Linked DNA regions of Homo sapiens: region 2 is linked to region 1. Evidence: promoter capture Hi-C in 16 types of primary human blood cells and fetal thymus (Javierre and others, 2016). All regions are on one chromosome and are shown on one strand. The core of a region is centred on a gene start or on the middle of the fragment in contact, and the rest is flanking DNA. Distances in the headings are between cores, read along the strand shown. Region 1 holds the start of PLEK (pleckstrin). Region 2 has its middle 39 kb from the start of ARHGAP25.

Region 1 (3,869 bases), core at 847-3,346:
TAGTACTTAGGTAACAAAATGATCTGTACAACAAACGCCTGTCACAGGAGTTTACCTATATAACAAGCCTGTACCTATACTCCTGAACCTAAAATTAAAGTTTTAGAAGAATAAAAAAAAAAAAGAGAATCTTAATGCATTATATCAGAGTGTTCAAAAGGTCCCAGAGAAAAATGCAGTAATTATGGAAGATGTAACTTGTAAACATGAAAATTATGGAAGATATAAATTGTAAAACTATCAATACAAAATTTCACTATTTAATTCCAGGCACATTTTCTAGATTGGCTTTTACAATCTGAGAGAACTACTCTCACTAATTAAAAACTATTTATTAATTTAAATCCACATGCTTGACAACCCTGACTCTATCATCCCCAATTTTTAGTGAGACAGCTTCACTTATTAGAAATTTAGTCTTCATATTTTTGTAATTTAGGGAGATTAAAATATGAGCATACAAACTTTATAACAGCAATTTTCATTGCAAGATGTTTTTAATTGTTTAAAAAAACAAACAAAAACTTGCAGAAATGTTCCTATTCACTTGCTCTTCTCAGGATACTAGCACAAGTGATCAGGAAAGGAATAAGTCAATATTAATTATTACCAGGTCTCGCCAATTATTATTGGTGCCTATTGCAAGTAATCTTTTACACTTCTATGTATAAGTGTGTCTTTTCCAAAGGATGTTTCGAAGCACAGCTGGCTACAGAGATTAGCAGCTGAGGGCCCACTTATTCTCCAGTACCAACTCATAGCTCTCACCATCACAAATACACTACAAATCCTAACTTGGAATAAATCTGCTTTAAGAAAATGCTGGAGTAATGAACAAAGTTCAGTGCCATGAATCAGAAACCTAAGCATCAGAGAAGGAGTGGCTGGTCACAACTGTCATAGCCATGTGACTTGGGGCAATCACCGAGCCTTCTGGGTCTGTCTCCTCTTCTGCAAATGAAGGAATTAGGCCAGATGACCTAGGGTCCCTCCAGCCTGAAGTCAAAATGGAAGCAGGCAGCAATGTGTGCTATTTAACCCCCCTTACAGGTAGAACATTGTAGGTTAAAACGTGAAACAAATGAGTAGCCTAAAACAGACTCACATTCACTGTTCATTCAACTAAAAAGCTAAGCACCTGAAGGAAGGCACTACGTTCAGCTCATTTCTGAAACAATCCACTCACTAAGGTTAGTGTGAGCATATCTGTGTATATAGGTGTTGCCCACAGGACACCAAGTCCTATGTGTGAATTCACATCCCGGGGAGCTTTCACAACCACACAGCACACACTCAGCATCCGAAGAAAGACAAACAGCACTAAGAAAATTCAATTTTCATGATGCACACCAGGGAGGCTAAGCCTTTTTCAGTACCCTAATCTTTAAAATGGTGCATCTACCACCTCGATGCCACATTATGCAAATTTACTAAGAATTGTGAGTGAAGAGATTTCAGCCCAATTAAAAAAAGATAAGGTTTTTTTTAAACGTGTCAATTCCAAGAAGATGGCCCAAGAAATAAGCCGTAATTACTCTATCATTATATCAACTCTTTAATCACTTTTTTCCCCTTGCCTCCCAAAAAAAGAACTGAGGGGAAGTGGAATTTAAATAAAAAATGAATAGTCCCTCCAAGAAACCTCCATAGAAGAGGAGTATATCTTCTGACAGAACACATCTGTGTGCCTCTTAAAAAGGATATTCTAAATCTGGAGGGAGTTAGCTTAGATCCCCACCTTCCAGGCCCTGCCATCTGGAATTCTCAGACCCGTAATATCAAACTGTAAGGAAGCCGGGGCTGGATGAGTATCCCCACTCCCCTAACCCCACTCCAACATTCTATGTGCTACCACGCTCCCCTATTTCAACCCAACTGGTTGAACAGGAAACATTCCTAAGATGAGCAGGTAGCCGGTGGAGCTGAACCCAAGTCTCCCCAGCCCATGTCCACTGACACCCTGGTAAGTGGCACCTTCGCTCACCTTCTTCACAAGGTAGCCCTCTCTGATCCGCTTTGGTTCCATGCTGGCTGGACAGGCAGATGCAAAGGTCACTCTCAGGCAACTCCTCTCAGCAGCTGGGCCTCCTCTGCATGCTGAGGTGGCTGTGGGCCGCCTTTTCTACAGCAGGTCGCTTTCACAATTTCCCTTCTGCTGGCGGTCGCATGATCACATCCTCTTCCCCTCACTGGGTTGGAAGATCAGAATAAGGAACTGCAGAGTAAACCACCCATTCCTTGCTAATGCTGGAGACTTATTAAAACCACAGTTGGGTTGAATATTTACCTAAGGGAAATTCTTACTACCATACAGAAAATCCCTCTTTTAAAGAGAAAAAGAAGTGATGAAAGGAAGAGGAAGATGAACAAGAAAAACTTGTTGGTGAAAATTGTCCTGAGTAAGGATTATTCTTGAGATCCTGGAAATGCCCAATAAAAATGCCAAGAAATTCAGAACCATCTGGTTAGCATAACAAAGTTAACTACTAAATGAATGCCTACTTCTCTCTATGCCAAGCCCTGTATCAAGTGTTTCTCAGCCTACTTATTTTAAACTAAATTAGTCTGCACATCGGCCAGGCATGGTAGCTCACGCCTGTACTCCCAGCACTTTGGGAGGCCAAGGCAGATGGATCACCTGGGGTCAGGAGTTCAAGACCAGCCTGGCCAACATGGTGAAACCTTGTCTCTACTAAAAATACAAAAATTAGCCGGGCATGGTGGCGTGTGCCTGTAGTCCCAGCTACTCGGGAGGCTGAGGCAGCAGAATCACTTGAACCTGGGAGGCGGAGGTTGCAGTGAGCCGAGATTGGTCCACTGCACTCCAGCCTGGGCGACAGAGAAAGACTTCATCTCAAAACAAACAACAACAAAAATGAGTCCACACATCAAACCCATAGGGAAAGTATATTATTTTCCTTATCTTAGAGTAAGGAAACTCAGGCTCAGAGAAGAAAAGTTGTCTCAAGTTGACGCTGCAGGTCACAGGGGAAAGCAGAAGAACCAGGGAGGGATGTGCTAGGGTGCCACTGCCTCACATCAGGCATGAGAACAGGTGTTCCACGTTGAGTGCTGATCTCACAGTCAGCCTGTAAAAAGAAGTCCATCATCAAACAGGTTTTTGAGAAACTTTACAAAATAATCCCAGGTTGGCAACTCCTCTAAATGATGAACAAATTAAAGACCTTCGCCCCGCCAAAGTACTACAGTAAAGAATCCTATAATGGTGTTTTCCAAACTTACTTCGCCATAGCATTCTTTTTTGAACAATTTATGTTAACTTTTTTTGTCATAAATTGAATTAGATCTCCCAAAAAAGAAGTCCTAACCCTTAGCACTTCAGAATGCATCCTTATTTGGAAATAGGGTCATTGTAGATATAATTAGTTAAGATGAGGTCATACTGAAACAAGTGGGCCCTTAATCCAATGTGACTGGTGTCCTTATAAGAAAAGGGCACACAGAAAACAGCCATGTGACAACAGAGTGATGCATTTACAAGCCAAGGAACGCCAAGGATGGCCAGCAACCCCCAGAAGCTGGAAGAGGCACGCAACAATTCTCTCCTAGAGTTGCTATAGAGAACATGGTGCTGACGACACCTTGATTTCAGACTTACGGCCTCCAGAACTGTAAGACAATAAATTTCCATTGTTTTAAGCCACCAGTTTGTGGTACTTTGTTATGGCAGCCCCAGGAAACCAATATAATCCTGAAAAACGAATATTCCATAGAATAAACTTAGAGACCCGTTAATCTGACCATGTGAAAATGAGCAAGTTTGTTATTACTTTGTGCCTCAGTTTTCTCATCTGTAATACGGGGATAATAACACCTATCCAATGAGGTCATTCTGAAGATTAAATGAG
Region 2 (4,153 bases), core at 1,639-4,138, 330 kb before region 1:
GCCCCCAGTGTGTCTGCCTACCAGACACCCCATCTTGCAAGACCGCCATTAAAAGTCTCACTTTCGCTGTTCTTCATGCCTCTGGGTCCATTCTTTGAGTGTGGACGGGTGAGTGTGTTTCTCACAGTAATGAAACCACCTTGGCAAAAATTATAACAGAAAATTTTGACAGTGAAAGAGCTCTGACATATCTGATTCCATCTTGCTTTGAACCTCCAAGATGTCCTTGTTCATTCCTGAGCATATGCTGAACTAATTTAGGAGAAACTTAGTTTATAGTTTAACTTTGAATCAAAGATGATAATAGCCCTTTCCCAAAACAAACCCCTTTCTTGCTAGGGGACCAGACTGCCTTTGTGGGGACTGACAAATTAGCCACAAGATTAGAAATTATGGTTTAGTAGTCATACAGCAGGTGGCTCCAAGATCCTGAATCTCCCCACATTGCTCCTGGGGATAACGTCACTATTGTTAAACCTAAGACCAGTGCTTGAGAGATTTTTACGGAGCCATACTCTATGGTTCAGCTTAGCAGCACCGAGATCCATAAGCTGGTTCATCTGGTCTTGTGGTCCCACCCAGGAACTGATTCAGTGCAACAGGACGGCTTCAACTCCATATGGTTTCATCTCTGACCCAACCAATCAGCACTCTCCCCTTTCTGACCCCCTACCCACCAAATTATTCTTAAAAACCCCTATTTCCAAGTTTTCAGGGAGACTTGTTTGAGTAATAATAAAACTCCAGTTTTCCGTACAGCTGACTCTGTGTGAATTAAATACTTTCTTTATTGCAATTCGCCTATATTGATAAATCAGCTCTGTCTAGGCAGCAGGCAAGGACCCACTGGGTGGTTATGGTAATGTGCCTTGTGGAGAAAATATATGTTAAATAAGCTTTGTTTGAGCATGAGTTACAGTGCTATTGACCATGAATTCAATGTTAAAATCAACAATATATATTAAATAAGATGCCTTTAAATAGAAACATATATAAAACAAGGTTATATATTGATCAGTTGACAAACATGTTATAGCCAAAGACTCATAGGAACCTAACTCTATATTTTCTCTAGGACCGATGGTTCTTTAATTCACTAATTCAGTGTTTAGAGTGACTTTATAGAGCATAATTACCATGAATAATGAGAATTGACTCTATATTTGTATGAATATTGAGGGAAATTAAATATTTTACCCCAAAATATATTTCTTTGACTTATTTTGAAATGGCTGCCACTTGGCTGACAGAAGTGGCCTTGCAAAGCTGTCTCAAGTGGGGAAGTTTTACATCTGTAAAGAATCTCTGTTAATGCAGCCACGCCCCTTCCCTTTCTATTTCTTTCCCTGTATCCAGCAGAGATTGAGAGTCTGACTCCGTTTACCAGCTATTCTCTCTGAGACAGCCTTCATCTACATAACAAGGCCACCTTTGCTAGCCAAGTCTCTTCCCCCACCTCTCATAACCTGTTTTAGCAGAATCTAGCCCCCATTCTTTCTCTAGCCTCAAAATGGGTTCTTCTTGCCTACTGCCCAGATACAGCCAACTTATCAAGACAGGAGAATTGCAATAGCAAAGGAGTTTAATTCATGCAGAGCCAGCAGAATGGGAGACCAGAGTTTTATTACTCAAATCAGTCTCCTCAAAAATTTGGAGACTGGAATTTTTAAAATAATAATTTGGTGTTTAGGAGACCAGGGAATGGAGAGTGCTGATTAGCCAGGTCAAAGATTAAATTGTAGGGGGTCAAAGTGGTTTCTTCTGGCTGTCTGGTCAAAGTGGGTTCCTAAGTGGTATCACAGAACTGACTAAGCCAGATAACCAGTCTGGGTGGAACCAGCTAATGCATCAGAATGTGGGGTCTGAAAAATATCTCGAACGCCAATGTTAGGTTTTACAATAGTTATATTATCCTTAGGAGCAATTGGCGAGGTTCAGAATCTTGTGGCCTCTAGCTGCATGACTCCTAGCATGACAGTTTAGTATTCTGGGAGCCCAGGCACAAAAGAGTATGTATTCATTCATGCTAAGTGGAAGGAAGTGGTAGGAACCCTTTGGCCATTAAGAATTCCTTAAAATTTTAGTTTTCTTTTTATTTGCCTTCAAGGTTCCTACCACTTCCTTCCATGCTCTCGCCATGCTAAAACCCAATTTGTATGTCTTATCTCTCCTCACTGGGGCCTGTAACCCTTTCAAATTCATGTCACCTAATCATTTTACAACCTTAGATCTTGATGGACTCAAGAATTCCATAGATTATCTGGCTCTTTGTCCTGTTAGTAGAGTGACATTCCCTTTCTGTTTTCTATATTCTAAACAGAAGCAAAACTTTTACATTGATGTTTTACTGTTATTGGATTCTGCACTCCCTAATGACCTCAATCAAGGTGACCTGCTACCTAAAAATAAAACTCAGTAACCAATATTCTGAATGTATTCATACTTCTAATATCCTGTATCTTCATATTTTAGCTTTAAGCTATTCTAATATTAATTTCAGTTAAATTGTATATAAAAAACAAATAGCCTGGCTCTTACCTGCCTACACTGTTACTCTAGTCTAGGTATTTCTGGAGTAACAGTGTGAGCAGGTAAGAGCAGGTAGTATTCGTGGGCTGTGTACATAGGGAAGTTTCACTCTCATGGTATCTGTATAGTTCCATAGACACTGCCATTAGCTGTGTCTTCCTTCAAATCTCCACTGCACACAGTGTAACTGCCCAGTGGGGTTCTCCTTGCCCACTGTCCAGATGCAGCCAGGTTATCAAGATGGGGGAGGGAATTGCGGAAAAGAAAGAGTTTAATTTCTGAACAGGAGACTGGAGTTTTGTTACTCAAATCAGTGTCTCTGAAAATTCTGAGGCTATGGTTTCTCAAGGATAGTTTGGTGGGCAGGGAAATGGGTGCTGCTGATTGGTTGAGGATGCAATCCTAGGATTGTGGAAAACAGTCCCTGTGCACTGAGTCAGGTTCTGGGTGGGGCCACAGGGCCTGTTGAGTCAAGAGTATCTGGTTTGGATGGGGCCATCTGGTCATCAGAAATACAAAACCCTGAAAAGACATTTCAAAAGGCCAGTGTGTTCTATAACAATGATGTTATCTGCAGGAGTAATTAGGGATGCTGCAAATCTTGTGTATGGAATAATGGCTGGTAATCATTTATGCCTATATCTTAGCAGAATTTAGCCTCATCTCATCCTCCTAACCTGGTGGTCTTTCATTAGTTTTGCTATGGTGGTTTAGTTTTGGGGAGGGCTATTATCATTTGAACTATAAACTAAATTTCTCCCAAAGTTAGCCCAAGCCCAGGAATGACCAAGGGAAGTTTGGAAGTTAAGGGCAAGATGGGGGTTGATTAGATCAGATCTATTTCACTGTCATAGTTTTCTCACTGATACAATGTTTGCAAAGGCAATTTCAACAGCAGTTTCCTGACTTGTGGTCACCATCACATTGCCAAGAAGATCCTGCCTCTGCTCCAGCACAGCTCATCCGGGTTGACCATCTCTGCTGCCCGGGCTATCCTGCTGCAAACAGTGAGCGAGCCACAGGGCACCCATCTGTGCAATGTTCTGAAGAGGAATGACTGAGAATGGTTCACTCCATTTTGTGTTATGTGCTGAATGAGGAATCCCAAAGCAGGATTGCTGGATCCTGGTGTATTACAGAATTTCCAGTTTTCCCTTCAATCTTATTCCCCCATGGACATGTGGGGATCTAAGCTAAGGGAAGATTTAAGGAATAGTCTTTATGTTCTCTGAATCCCTAATCCCCCTGGGAAATATATCTTTTCACTGGTTCAAACTCTTCATGCTTGGCTCCCTCTTGCCTCAGGCTACGACTTCACAAAGCGGAGTGAAGTAGGCCATCCCATCAGCCCACCAGAAAAATCAAGTTATGTCTGTACTCCAGCAGTGTGCACAGCTTGAATCCCACACAGGGACACACAGCACAAATTAGAAGACTCCTTTGTCCCCAATGCAAATAGCCATCTGTCAAATCTGTTCACCAATTAACCAAATATGTCTGAACTCTTCACAGTAGGCTGTGCCTCCAGTTGCAATTTCCATATTGAAAATATGTTTTTCATTAGCAAAGGTGCTTTTCCCCCAGAGGAACTTAGAAAAATGCAAAGCAGCTTCAAACATTCACA

Evidence for each region. Contacts are between HindIII fragments. The CHiCAGO score rates a contact against its expected background, and 5 or more counts as called.
Region 2: a contact is called between a fragment that was not itself captured here and the fragment with the promoter of PLEK in region 1, in 1 of 17 cell types (neutrophils). The highest score is 6.3, in neutrophils.

What each region holds. Positions count from the first base shown.
Region 1 is chr2:68,363,509-68,367,377 of GRCh38, reverse strand. It overlaps PLEK (pleckstrin), which reads right to left and starts at 2,096. Exons shown (of 9, transcript NM_002664.3): 1 at 1,985-2,096. The coding sequence starts at 2,026. LOC101927723 (a long non-coding RNA gene) reads left to right here and starts at 974. Exons shown (of 2, transcript NR_187652.1): 1 at 974-1,963. RefSeq lists an enhancer at 2,057-2,136. The HindIII fragment of the contact is 25,233 bases long and covers 1-3,869 here.
Region 2 is chr2:68,693,979-68,698,131 of GRCh38, reverse strand. No RefSeq gene overlaps it. Among named protein-coding and RNA genes, the nearest start is that of ARHGAP25, 39 kb to the left of the region's middle. The HindIII fragment of the contact is 3,980 bases long and covers 899-4,153 here.